Linked DNA regions of Homo sapiens: all the other regions are linked to region 2. Evidence: promoter capture Hi-C in 16 types of primary human blood cells and fetal thymus (Javierre and others, 2016). All regions are on one chromosome and are shown on one strand. The core of a region is centred on a gene start or on the middle of the fragment in contact, and the rest is flanking DNA. Distances in the headings are between cores, read along the strand shown.

Region 1 (2,700 bases), core at 20-2,519, 200 kb after region 2:
CTCGTCCCCACCCAAATTAAACCTCTTCCCCAGCCACAGATGAGCTGCTCTGCTGAGAGCCCCGCAATGGGCAACTTTGCCCCCACTCCACAGTGAGACCAGGCTACAAGGAGGCAGAGCTTCCACGTGGTCCACATGGGGGAAGGCTGGTTCCCTGCAGACCCGTGTTCCCTGGGCCTGTCGCCTTGGCTCCCTTGTCAACTAGCTGGCTACACTACTGTGGGCAGGTCACGCCATCTCTTTGAGCTTGGTCTTCTCCAGAAATGGGCAGCTGTTAAAGATAAGTGGCTGTCATTCTTATCCTGCCTTGGGAATGCTAGAAAGTAGCAAATGTTCTCTTGGTTCCCTTTCTTGCTCATTTCTTTCTTTCCTTTTTTTTTTCTTGTAAAGACAGAATCTCACTCTCTCACCCAGTCTGGAGTATAGTGGTGCAATCTCAGCTCACTGCAGCCTCCACCTCCCAGGTTCAAGCAATTCTCCTGCCTCAGCCTCCAGAGGAGCTGGGATTACAGGCATGCATCACCACGCCGAGCTAATTTTTGTTATTTTTAGTAGAGACAGGGTTTCACCATATTGGCTAGGCCAGTCTCAAACTCCTGACCTCAAGTGATCCCCCCACCTCGGCCTCCCAAAGTGCTTGGATTATAGGCATGGGCCACCGTGCCCGGCCCCTTTCTGGATCATTTCTCCATTCTCTAGAACTAAGGAGCTCAAACTTTTTTGAGTGGAAACATGCGGGACATTTTTACATTGCAACCCCCAACACACAAAAAGTGATCAGTGCATTCTGACATTCTCTTTTTTATTTATTTAAAACAAAACAAACAAAAAAAAACAGGGTCTTACTCTGTCACCCAGCTAGAGTGCTGTGGCATAATCATAGCTCACTGCAGGGTCCAACTTCTGGGCTCAAGCGGTCCTCCCACCTTGGCCCCCTTAAGTGCTGGGATTGCAGTCATAAGCCACCGTGCACGGCCTCTCTATTCTACTCCATTTCATTTTTAAAAAAATTGATGGCCTGAGTGCTGTGGCTCACACATGTGAATCCCAGCACTTCAGGAAGCTGATGCACGAGGATCACTTGAGCCCAGGAGTTCAAAACCAGCCTGGACAACATAGTGAGACCCCATCTCTACATACACACACACATACATGCATACATACATACATACACACATACATAGTAAAAAAATTAGCCAGGCATAGTGGCTCATGCCTGTAATCCTAGCTACTCAAGAGGCTGAGGTGGGAGGATTCTTTGAGCCAGGGAGGTTGAGGCTGCAGTGAGCTGTGATCATGCCACTGCACTCCAGCCTGGGTGAGGAGAGTGATATCCTGTCTCAAAAAGTAATAATAATAATAATTGATGGTTACATTATTACAAAGGTTAGCATGAGGGAATTTGAGGTAGGGAGTAATGGAACTGGTGTATACCTTGATTGTGATGGTGGTCACACACATCTATATATGTGACATTCACGGAATCATGCAGTAAAGAAAAATCAATTTCACGTCTGTTCATTTTAAAAGTAACGTTTTTTAAGAAGAAAAAAAATCGATAGTTGCAGCCCACTAGATAGAATTCATATCACTCAGGGGTTCCAACCTGGAGTATGAAAATTCCTGTCCCTAAAACCCATGATAGTGGATAGGGGGAGGCAGAAAGGGCCATTGCTCGGGCTGTGGGTGGGTGAGCTGGGGAGAAGGGAGAGAGTGGGAGGTTTCACTTCCTGACCCTCCTCTCTTCTTTCTGCAGTCGCTTCCTGCCTCGGACGGCTCAGCTGGTATGACCCAGGTAAGGAAGAGCCACATGGAGAAAGGCCTGGGGCAGGGGGAGAGTGGGGCTGTGGTTTCATCAGGCCATCGGGGACCTCTCGATGAAGCCATCACTTCTGCCAGAGTGAACCCCACCCTATAGAGAGAGTGAACCCCAGCATACACACAGGCACATAGATGCAGACACTGCACATTAAGATGCTCACATGCAGGTGGGTGCCCTCGACAGCCGTAAATCACCCACAAATGCCAGATCTCATGATAATTATTATGACCCGCTCACCATGCACAGAAGACATCCCAGCTCATAAATGTACCTTGCAAAGTCTTATTTCCCACCCAATCCTGACAGATGCTCCATGGTCAAAGATGTTTAGAGCGGAGTCTGCAGAGAGAGGCCGCAGACTGATGGTAAAGTGTGTGGAACGTCCAGCCTTAGACGTTGGAGTTTAGTCGTAGAGGCTGTTTCCCAAATAGGGTTCCATGGAGCATGTTGGACAAAGGGCAGGCAACACCGCATCTCCCACTGAAGACTGACAGTGTACACCGGCCCAGTAAAGGATCTGAGAAATCCTGCAGCGAAGAAATACATGACACTTTTTAACCCAGCACTTTGCACCCTTATTTCACCACAGACCTCTCCTTCACATTGACTGGGATAACATCGTGCTGAATGTACCTGGGGAGAATTGTGGCTGAAGGGTCTTGAGATGCCACTGTGCAGCCAGAGGGGGTGACAGGGGCCTTGGCAGGCCCTAAGCACGATCTGGGCCCTGCACTGACATCCTAGCTCCAAGCTTTGGCACACTGCTTGACCTCTTGAGCCCGTTTCCCCAGCTGTGAAATGGGAAGAAAATCTCTTGCCTGGTGAAGCGGCAACGAGCCAGCTCGCTGGGCGGACAGCCTGCAAATCACCCCACCAAT
Region 2 (2,700 bases), core at 126-2,625:
GCCAGCCGTTTTTCAGCACCAGTGGGATCACACTCCACTCACTCAAGATTCACCGCGTTCCACCCCTCATAGGAGGGAGCGTGCAGGTGAGTGGGTGCAGGAGCCAGAGCGTGCGCTTTTGGACACCGGCAGGAGCGAACTCCGTGCAGGCCCCGGGGCAGTGTCCAGGCAGAGTGCCTGAGGCTCCTGAAGCCCCAGAGGGCATGTTACAGTGTTCTTTTGGCTCTGTCGTCCGTGGACAGCTTAAGTGTTAACAGCTCCGTGGGCCCGCGGTTGCCCTCCACCAGCAAGGGCAGAGGGCCAGCGTGACAGCTTTTGTATCCGCACTCGTGGCTCCCGAGCTCTTGTCCAGCGTCCAAGAAAAATAAAGCTGCACGAACAAATTAAAGGACAAATGCCTGGGATTTTATTGCTGATCAAAGTGGATTTCAGAGGGAAGGTGAGCTGAAAAGAGGGGGGTGGGACAGGCCGGTATGTAGTCTTCCCTTGAAGTCCAGCTATCTCCAGCCAGATTCGTCTCAGAAGTTACGCCTTAAGCTGTCCCTCTGAAGACAAGCTGCTTCTCTCTGACATCCAGCCATGGTCGTCCCCTCATCCAGCTGCTTCTCCTCTCTGCCAGATGAGTCTGGGGTCTTTCTAGGCACAGGATGAGGCAGGGCAGAGCCATGGGTGGCTTAGGAAAAGGCAACATTCAACTGGAAAAACATGGATAGAAGTTCTCACTTTGGGCCATGGTTTCAGGCTTTTTGGCTTGAGGGTGGGGTTTCACCAGGGACCCGCTCTTTTCTACCTAGCATTTATCTGCCTCCTGTCCCTATGCACTGCCTTTGTGGCAGAAAAAGGAGAGTGAGAGTTGGTTCCTCTCTTTCTCTGAAATTCTGAGCTAACATTTGGGAGCCGTCTACAGTATTCAGGTATGAATTTTCTCTCTGGGGGAGCGCATTCGTTTTCCTAGAGCAGTGTGCTTTTAATTGCTCCTTTAATATCTTTCTCTTTTGTGCCTTTTTAGCGCGAAAAGTGTATGGGAAGACTAGGTGCTCGTTAGCGGCTCGGTTAGAACTACATTGCCCACAATGCCCCAGGGAACATTTGTAGCTCTAGAACTACATGACCCAAAATGCCGAGTGGTGGCAAGAGGAGGATTAGCTTCCACTCCGATTTCAAAGATCCAGTTTACCCACTCTACAGCCCAGATATAGTCACTTATTTCCCCTTTCCAGCCAGAGACTTCCGTTCCCTGCTGGAACTTCCGATCCCATTCTTCTCTCGGTGGGAATGCTTGTGGGGGGAAAAAGAAACGCAATAGATAAAGCGGGGCGCATGCGCTCCCGGCACAGGCTTCGATTGTGAGGAAGGCCGGCTAGTCTCCGAGCTCATCCCGCCTTGCGCATGCGGAGAAGGTAAACCAGCGCCCCGAGTTGAGGCGCGGGTTTGGTGGCGCGTTTCAGCGAAGTCGCACGTGAAGGATAGCAGTGGCCTGAGAAAGGTGAGAGCGGGCCGAGGTCGGAATGTGGGGCAGCGCACGGGAAGGGGAGACAGCAGCCGCTGCAGGCGGCACCAGGCGGAGCCGCGAGGCCTGGAGAGTCCGAGTGGGGAGGGGTCCGCGCGCCCAGCGTGCGAAACAAACCGGGGACCCGGATCCCCGTTGCTATGCAACCGGGGGCGTCGTTTCCAGGCAACCCGGGAGGCGCACGTTTCCGGGGAGAAGAGGGTTGCGGCGAGGTTCCGAGGTCCGGCAGAGGTGGAGCGGCTCCCGGGCGTGGGGACCAGGCCAGCGCCAAGCCCGAGCCCCCGAACCCCGACCCACGGCCCAGCCTCCTGCAGCCTCGGCTCGAGCCCTTCGGGGGGCCCCAAACTCATGGGTCGCGCCACGTTCCTTGCCAGCGACGCTACCCCTCAGCGCTTGGCAGGGGACGCGCCGTTCGAAATAGCACATGCCACTGACACCCTGTCTCCGGGAGGCTGCGCCCCGGTTAGGGCGCGGAGCGGCAGGGAAGCTGCCCCTTTGCCGTCGCCCTGCCCCCAAACAGTTGCTGGGCAGCAGCTGTCAGGGGTTTAGTGGGAGCTGCCCCCAACCTGCCAGGGCGCTGACTTCATTCTCTGCAGTGGCGGCTTCGCCTTGTTTAGGACCTTCCTTTAGACTCAGCTGTGCTTCTCGTGTGGCTGCTGTATATTTGGATCTACTATTAAAATAACCTCCCTCCTCACCTCTCCATGGCTTTCTCGTTCGACCCTCACGGTTTCTTGGCAGGTTGCTAATATTCATTTAATAAACATTTATTAGTCATCTTTCCTACTAGGCGCTGGGGATTCCAACATGTCAAGTCTAACCGGGAGTCGCTCGGTCTACTGGGGAAGGCAGGTTGATAAACTGCTAAATTATGCTACGATATATAGTCAGTGGTAATGTGTGTGCTGCAACATTTCTATAGATGTTTAGTTTACAAAGCGCTTGCTGCAGAAATATCTTAACTCCTTACAGCAACTCTTCACCTGGGTTCACTCCCTTTTACGTTTGAGGAGACTGCAACTCAGGCAGGTTAAGTAACAGGCGTAAGGTAGTAGCTTCTAGTCCGTGGCACACTTGAGCCTGGGACGGAAGTCAGGGGTCCTTTGTACACTGCTGCACTTTTGAAGCTTTGCTTAGACTTTTCCCTGAGCTGCTGGCTATGCATCCGAAATTCCTGAGGAGCTTTGCAA
Region 3 (2,737 bases), core at 48-2,547, 130 kb after region 2:
GGGTCAAATAGGCACTCCCTTGTGCTTCAGGTTGGAATGTAAATTGAGAGACAGCTTTTAAAAGCAACTGGAAAATGCGTACCGAGGGCTTTAACAATGCCTGCGCTTTTGACCAGGAGACCCACATTTAGAAACTGCCAAGAAAACAGTGTAGACAAACATATACGCACAAAGATGTCCTCTACTATATAAGGAAAAACTAGAATGAGATGTCTAACATCTAGGAAACCCATCTGGTAAATGCCGGTATCTAGATCTAAGAGAATTTCATGCAGTTTTCAGAAGGGATTCTTCTTACAAAATCCCAGCAAGATGTACAGCAAACAAGCCTAGGAGGGCTGCCCACGATGCTCTGAATGGTAGATTTGGATGGGATTCTTTTTTCTCTTTCTAGTTTTTAAAATAGTTTTCCAAGTTTTGTGCCATAAACATGTATTTCCTTGATAATTTTTTTGAAACCTATTTTAAATGAGCAATTAACATGTTTAAAAATTAATATAGGCCAGGTGCGGTGGCTCACGCCTGTAATCCCAGCACTTTGGGAGGCCGAGGCAGGCGGATCATGAGGTCAGGAGATCAAGACCATCCTGGCTAAAACGGTGAAACCCCGTCTCTACTAAAAATACAAAAAAAAAATTGCCCGGGCGTGGTGGTGGGCGCCTGTAGTCCCAGCTACTCGGGAGCCTGAGGCGGGAGAATGGTGTGAACCTGGGAGGCGGAGCTTGCAGTGAGCCGAGATGGCACCACTGCACTCCAGCCTGGGCGACTGAGTGAGACTCCGTCTCAAAAAAAAAAAACATTAATGTAACTTTTTATTATAACAAATCCACACTCATAGAAAGGAAACAAGAAAAAAAAAGGCTAAACACTGCACAAAATCTCTAAAGAAGGTAAAAATAATCTGGAATCCTACCACCTGGAGATAACCACCTCTATACATACACATACCTATATGTAGACACACATACAGAGACACATGCATGTTATTTGCAAATTGCTTCTTTTCCTCATCAATATGTCATGGACATCCTTCCACAGCAATAAAAGTCCATCAACCTCATTCTTTCTTAATGGTCCATGTGAAAATATTTCCACCCATACATCTTGTCTTATGGACGTACCATTATTTATTTAACCAATGCTCTATTGATGCACCTTGAAGTTGTTTGCAATATTTCACTTAATCATTAACATACCAATAAATGATATGGACTGCGGGAGTCAGCCTCTGCTGTAGTGTTAATATTCTACTGTGAATTCACTATTCAGGTCAGGGCATCAGTTTCGTCCCTTGTAAGACAAGGACATGGCGATTCCTGAGGTGCCTCCAGCTGTAGTATTCTCTGATTTCCTGCAGTGGCAGCTGGTTTCTCAAGAATATGAAGTGCTCAATGTAATTTAGAGCAATCTGCACAGCTAAGAATAGGGATCCTCTCTAAAATGATACTGTGGAAGCCCTCAAATTACCACCAGACTTCAACAGTACATATTTCCCGATCTGCAGGGTGACTGGAAGGTGGCTTCTGATGCCAACTTGGGCTACAATCATGCTGGAATGCAGCTCTGTCTTCAGTCAGGCCAGTAGCATTCAAAGAAGCACAACTGTGCAGCCATCTGCCTTTCTCCCAGTGGTCGAGTTCTCTTTTTCTACAGACTGCTCTCAGAGTTCTGCCCATTTTCTTTACCTGCACTTTTCCTTGAACCTCAAACATACATACATATTAGGATGCCTTGAGCTCGGTGTTTGCTCTGCAGCAAATCTCTCAATAATCCACCTGCTATCAGCATCACACCCCTGACAAATGCTCCTAATGGGCCTCTTCCCAGAAAAGAGCTTTTGATGTTGCATAGCAAGCATGAGAGTGAGATTCAACCAGGCAGACTGGCTTTATCCAACCACAGTAACAACAAACCTTAACTGGGCACCTACTATGTGCCAGGCACACTTCACTTTTGCACATCACTTCATTTCTGAAGACTGGCCAGTTTCTGAAGGCAGTTAGGAAAAACCCTTGTTGAGAATTCCAGCTTTAAAAAGTGCCTCTGACTCTAGAAACCAGGTTTAGAAAAGCCAGTCCTCTGATGCATAAATCCCCGCTACAACAGTAATCGCACCTAGCAGCTTGTATCATTCACAAGCATTCACTTGCTTTGGCCCTGAAGAGCTGCTTTTACTGACTTGTGCTTTGGGGCAGACCTTCAGGAATTGAGGGATTTTGTGGGAAACAGCATGATGAAACTTGCTGTTTGTTGCTCATAAAGATGACGAGAATGTCTTTTGAGACAGTAGAGAGGGTCCTCAAGCCTCTGGGTTTGCCTCTTTGCCTTGGCCACCAGGAAGCTCAGAATCAAACCAGTGTCCCACCACCTACAACATGAACAGACCTTTTGATATGATGCATCATGTGGATAACTTTCTCATCAATTCATCTTTTCACCCGTGCTTTCCTATCACACAGAGTTCTCTGGGTTATTTTTCATCCTGCTCCGTTTTGTGTACTGTTGCCTCATACTTATGGTGAATGGGAAGGGAAATAAATGTTACAAGTCAGAGACAGGACAAAAGACTGGCCCCCTAGCTCCCAGCCCTTTCCCCCACCTTTGATGATTGGGCCACCTGAAGAGGGGTGTCACTTTGATGGGCTGATCCGAGTCACCCCCAGTCACTGCAATTTCAGAACAAAGTGCACCGTGGGCCCTTTCCACATCTTCTTCAACCACCTCACCTTTTGTTCTT
Region 4 (2,700 bases), core at 50-2,549, 150 kb after region 2:
CTTGGTGGGAGGGGGCGGCTGATAGGAGAGGCTCTAGGGAACCTTAATGGGGGATGAAAATGTTCTAGATCTTGAGCTGGGTGGAGGTTACACGGTGTATGTGTGTGTGGGTGTGTGGGCGTGTGTGTGCATGCAATATATATAAAAAAAGTTTTACATTTTTAAAAATCATTAACAGTGTTTACACTTCTTTTTCAGAGCTAACCTTACATATGCTTGATCAAATGACGAAAAGCTTCAGCCAGAAACAGTTTTGCCTGGGTTCTGAATCTTCCCTGAGCTCTTAAATTCTACCCAGTGAGCATCTAGGTTAAAACCTGGATAAAACCTGGATAAAAGATTAAAAAACTCAACCAAGTTTCCAAGTTCTTGTACTGCTTGGCTCTGTGTAGATCCGAGTTAACAAACAGGTTTCAATCCACATACCAGATCTGATGGTATGAAGCACTGATTATGGCTGGGCACAGTGGCTCATGCCTATAATCCCAACACTTTGGGAGGCCCAGGCAGGAGGATAGCTTGAAATAGGAGACTGGGGCCCTTGCAAACCCACTGAACTTCCTGGTGGTCACAGTGGACAGTCAGCCTGGGGAATAAGTCTCTCTGTGAAAAATGCAATGAACACAAGGCCCCTTTCCATGGCCTGTGCTTGGAACCAGCAAAGGAGTCGGCCATTCTGCATCCTGAGCACAGACAGAGGAGCTGTGGGTGACAGATGGTGCCTGCCAGGAGCAGGGATGCATGAGTCTCAGGTCAATGACAGATGTGGCTGGAGCCCAGTGTGGAGGCCCCAGGCTCCAGCGTGACCTAGTTTTCGAGATTGATGGGGCTGGCGTTGATGGCCTCCCGTGCACTCTCCTCTGTTCAGTGGGGGGCAGAGAGAACCCAAAACAGCAACGCCCTCCCCCAGCCCACACTTAGACAACAGGTGACTACGAAAGGAAGGCAGGAGGGGAGGTGGGGAGGGGAATGGCAGGCGGGCCAAGTTGGGTGGGCTCCGGGGCAGATATGTCTGCCTCTCTTCTCTGAGGCACGACTGAGGGGCAGAGAAAGGCCAGGCAGTGGCAGTGACTTCACGTGCGCTGCTGCCAACGACCCCCATCCCTCCCAATCCACCGTGGTAACACCAATATGTTCCCAGCTTGGATCTCTCTCTCTCTCTCTTTCTCCCCACCCACCTTGGGCCCCAGACTCATACCCAGCCCTGTCTGCTCAGCATCTCCACTTGGGTGTCCGAGAGCATCTCAAGTGTCATATGGCCAAAAGCAAACTCCTGACCATCCCTATCTCAAGACAGGGCTTCTCCATCCTTCCAGGTGCTCTGGCCAAAAACTGTGGTGTCACCTGTGACTCCTCTTTCTCTCACATCCCAGCTGCAATCCAGCCAGAAATCCTATGGGTTCTGCCTTCGAGATGTAGTCAGACTCTGGCCACCTCCCACCCCCTCCACTGCGACCGCCCTGATCCTGGCCACCGTCCTCTCTGCCTCCTCACCTGCCTTCCTGCTTCCTGCCCTCATTCCCTTCCGGGTGTTCTCCCTGCTGGATGTGGAGTGATCCCATGTAAAAGGCACCCATGACGTCTCCCACCTCACAGCCTACTGCTCTACCTGCTCACACCACTTGGGTCACGCTGGCCATCGGACACACTGGACAGCCTCAGGGCCTTTGCTGGTCCTGGGCTGGAAGGCTCTTCCCCTGGAGAGCCCTCAACTCCCTTCCTCGCCTTGGGTGGAGCCTTCCTGGACAGCCCTATTTAAATCGCCACCCCTCCCTCCCCCTTCCCCCTTCTCTTCTCCTGTTTTAGTCTCTTCCGTAGCATTTATTGCCACTGGACACACAATATATTTTTACTTATTTATTTTGTTCATTGTCAGTTGCCCCAGGTTAGACTGTAAGGAGCATGAGGGCAGGAAAGTTTGGGGTCTGTTTTGTTCTTGCCATGTCTCCCAACACCAAGGACAGTGCCTCGTGCATAGCAGGCACCTAGTAAGTTATTGAATAAGTGAATGAATCAGGATCAGTGACCTCCCTCTGGAACCACAGGCTTGACAGCAAAGCTCTCCCCCTTTCTTCTGGCCCCTCAGTGCCCCCCTCAGGGCAGAACTCCAGGTACCCAGTGTGTCTCCAGCAGGTCCCTGTGTCCCCTTAGTGGTGGGAACAAGAGATCCATCAGTTCCAAGCCTCAAGATGCCTCTTGCCTCCTTCATCATCTGTCTCCCTCACATCTGCCCTGCCTTTGACAATGTACAAATAGCTTTGAAGCCCTGTAAGGTTTCAGCATCCTTGTTGCGTAGGCTGGGAGAGCCAGGCAACAGCCCAAAGACACACAGCTTAGAAGGGAGGAGAACACCCATCCTGACAGCAAGCTTGGTCATTGCTCAGATTCACCCTGTCCCTACCACCTGCTTCCTCCAGGCCAGCACTGCAAGCCAATCGTGATGACAACGACGGTGCTGGATGGAGGACAGACAAAACCAGTGAGGCTCTTGCAACAGGGGAAAATGAGTCCACCAGCAACAAGAAGACTGGGACTGGGGAGGGGGTGCAGAAGGGATTAAAGGGTTCAAGGGGGCCTGGGAGGACAGAAGGGGATTCTGTTTGGGTTCCCCTCAACCAACCTAAAGCAGATTCTGCTGAAAACACAGGAGGCAATAATACCCTGAGCTTTTTAAGTGCATGTCCCCATGACCCCATAGCC
Region 5 (2,700 bases), core at 119-2,618, 170 kb after region 2:
TGCTCATCATCACTGGCCATCAGAGAAATGCAAATCAAAACCACTATGAGATATCATCTCACACCAGTTAGAATGGCAATCATTAAAAAGTCAGGAAACAACAGGTGCTGGAGAGGATGCGGAGAAATAGGAACACTTTTACACTGTTGGTGGGACTGTAAACTAGTTCAACCATTGTGGAAGTCAGTGTGGCGATTCCTCAGGGATCTAGAACTAGAAATACCATTTGACCCAGCCATCCCATTACTGGGTATATACCCAAATGAGTATAAATCATGCTGCTATAAAGACACATGCACACGTATGTTTATTGCGGCACTATTCACAATAGCAAAGACTTGGAACCAACCCAAATGTCCAACAATGATAGACTGGATTAAGAAAATGTGGCACATATACACCATGGAATACTATGCAGCCATAAAAAATGATGAGTTCATATCCTTTGTAGGGACATGGATGAAATTGGAAACCATCATTCTCAGTAAACTATCGCAAGAACAAAAAACCAAACACCGCATATTCTCACTCATAGGTGGGAATTGAACAATGAGATCACATGGACACAGGAAGGGGAATATCACACTCTGGGGACTGTGGTGGGGTCGGGGGAGGGGGGAGGGATAGCATTGGGAGATATACCTAATGCTAGATGACACATTAGTGGGTGCAGCGCACCAGCATGGCACATGTATACATATGTAACTAACCTGCACAATGTGCACATGTACCCTAAAACTTAGAGTATAATAAAAAAAAAAAAAAAAAAAGAATAAAATCTAAATTTCTTAAAAAAAAAAAAAATAAAAAAAATAAAAAATAAAAATTAGCCAGACGTGGTGGTGCACACCTGTAATCCCAGCTGCTCGGGAGGCTGATGCAGGAGACTCATTTGAACCTGGGAGGCAGAAGCTGCAGTGAGCCAAGATGGCACCACTGCACTCCAGCCTGGGTGACAGACTCTTGTCTCAAAATAATAAATAAATAAAATAAAGTTCAAAGAAAAGGCAAAGCCAATCTATGATGACAGAAGTCAGGACAGTGGATACTTGGGTAGGGAGCAGTGCGGGGCAGTGGGGAGCCTCCCAGGTGCTGGTTACACCAGCACGTGCAGTGTGTGAAGTTACATTTATAACACACTGCATGTACTGTGCTGTGTGTATCCCATATATAAGTAAAAAGTTGTTGTTGTTTTAAATTAAGCATCTGGGTTCCAGCCCAGCTTTACCACCTGGATGGTGTATAATCTCAGGCTAATTAAACTCTCTGAGTATCTACTCACTCTTCTGCAAAATAGAATAAAAATGATATCTGCCCCAAATGCTTCCAAATGTCAATGATTCAAAATTTCCATTCACGTTTACCTTATCCAAGTACCAAATATTATTTTTACTTAATATTTTTCCTTTAAATCAACTCACTAGTTAATCTAAAAATGAAATGTATAAACCATGAATCTGGTGAGCTAGTTATCTATTTTCAGTATATAAATTAATATAAAGTAAAACAAACACATTATTAAGATAAAAATGTTCATCTGTGAGCCACCTCAAGTCATCCTCCACATCAGTGAAGGTGGTATGTATATATTAACTCTGTCACCCAGGTTGGAGTGCAGTGGCATGATCACAGCTCACTGCAGCCTCAACCTCCTGGGCTCAAGCAATCCTCCCATCTCTGCCTCCCAAGTGGCTGGGACTACAGGCACACACCACCATGCCTGGATAATTTTTTTTTAATTTTTTTATAGAGACAGGGTTTCACCGTGTTGCCCAGGCTGGTCTTTAACTCCTGGGCTCAAGTGATTCTCCTGCCTCGGCCTCCCAAAGTGCTGGGATTACAGGCACGAGCCACTACGCCCGGCCAAGGTGTCATACTCACTCTGGGGAAAAAAACTAAGATAATGTAATTACATAGAGTCCCTAGCACTGTGTAAGCCCTTAGTAAATGGTAGCTATTATCACCACCATCATCATCATCATCGACTTCATCAACATTACTGACATCATCATCACCATCATCTTCATCATTTCATCATCACCATCAGCATCATTACTGCCATTATCATCATTCTCATCATTGACATGATCATCACTATCATCATCACCACATATAACACCAATAAGTATTTGTTTCCAGATCATCCCACAGGGTCAACCCAACATGGCCCTGGCCTCAGAAGAGCTTACAGAATTAGGAACATATAACCCATGCTGAAGTGTTGGGGCTTGCTGGGACACATATCGAGGTGAGCGCTCCACATCGGTGTGGATGGGGTAGAAGTTGTTGAGCTATGCCCTCCCACCCTCCACACCAGACCAGAACCGACTCTCTCCAGATTGCCTTGGGGACCTGCCTCTTGCCACAGGCCAAGGCTGACTGCACCTGGACCCATCCCCTCATCTCTCAGAACTTCAGTCTCCTCATCTCTGAAACAAGGCTGGTGACCTCAGCTCCTCCAAACCTCCCAGCAATGGGCAAAGGGAAGGACCCGCCATCAAAGACAAACAGAAGTCACTCGAGGAATGTCCTGGACATTCAGTAAATGATCACAAACATGTCTCACTTTTATATCAAATTTGTCCCCCAAGGTGGAGTCCTGGACACTCACTAATGATCACAAACATGTCTTATTCTTATATCAAACCTGTCCCTCGAGGTGGACCTGGACCTCTTCCACACTGACAGTCACAGGGCACC

What was found. The method cuts DNA at HindIII sites, captures the fragments that hold promoters and counts their contacts. A CHiCAGO score of 5 or more calls a contact.
Region 1: a contact is called between a fragment that was not itself captured here and the fragment with the promoter of TMEM109 in region 2, in 7 of 17 cell types (total CD4 T cells, activated CD4 T cells, naive CD4 T cells and 4 more). The highest score is 12.2, in total CD4 T cells.
Region 3: a fragment that was not itself captured here is called in contact with the fragment with the promoter of TMEM109 in region 2 in 4 of 17 cell types (total CD8 T cells, activated CD4 T cells, naive CD8 T cells and 1 more); the score reaches 7.0 in total CD8 T cells.
Region 4: a contact is called between a fragment that was not itself captured here and the fragment with the promoter of TMEM109 in region 2, in 7 of 17 cell types (total B cells, non-activated CD4 T cells, total CD8 T cells and 4 more). The highest score is 8.9, in total B cells.
Region 5: a fragment that was not itself captured here is called in contact with the fragment with the promoter of TMEM109 in region 2 in 7 of 17 cell types (activated CD4 T cells, total CD4 T cells, total CD8 T cells and 4 more); the score reaches 7.1 in activated CD4 T cells.

Annotation. Positions count from the first base shown.
Region 1 is chr11:61,113,300-61,115,999 of GRCh38, forward strand. It overlaps CD5 (CD5 molecule), which reads left to right. Exons shown (of 11, transcript NM_014207.4): 2 at 1,757-1,795. Among named protein-coding and RNA genes, the nearest start is that of CD5, 12 kb to the left of the region's middle. The HindIII fragment of the contact is 2,603 bases long and covers 1-2,571 here.
Region 2 is chr11:60,912,783-60,915,482 of GRCh38, forward strand. It overlaps TMEM109 (transmembrane protein 109), which reads left to right and starts at 1,376. Exons shown (of 4, transcript NM_024092.3): 1 at 1,376-1,486. It overlaps TMEM109-DT (TMEM109 divergent transcript), which reads right to left and starts at 1,281. Exons shown (of 2, transcript NR_186356.1): 1 at 1,178-1,281; 2 at 384-695. RefSeq lists enhancers at 1-613, 1,612-2,610, 2,005-2,174 and a silencer at 1,665-1,824. The HindIII fragment of the contact is 3,992 bases long and covers 1-2,635 here.
Region 3 is chr11:61,045,521-61,048,257 of GRCh38, forward strand. The region is part of intron 1 of LOC105369325 (a long non-coding RNA gene); the gene reads right to left. Among named protein-coding and RNA genes, the nearest start is that of LINC02954, 8.5 kb to the right of the region's middle. The HindIII fragment of the contact is 3,449 bases long and covers 1-2,737 here.
Region 4 is chr11:61,067,233-61,069,932 of GRCh38, forward strand. LINC02954 (long intergenic non-protein coding RNA 2954) reads left to right here. Exons shown (of 4, transcript NR_186234.1): 4 at 199-365. All of the region lies in intron 1 of LOC105369325 (a long non-coding RNA gene), which reads right to left. Among named protein-coding and RNA genes, the nearest start is that of LINC02954, 13 kb to the left of the region's middle. The HindIII fragment of the contact is 2,133 bases long and covers 234-2,366 here.
Region 5 is chr11:61,085,607-61,088,306 of GRCh38, forward strand. The region is part of intron 1 of LOC105369325 (a long non-coding RNA gene); the gene reads right to left. Among named protein-coding and RNA genes, the nearest start is that of CD5, 16 kb to the right of the region's middle. The HindIII fragment of the contact is 5,909 bases long and covers 1-2,700 here.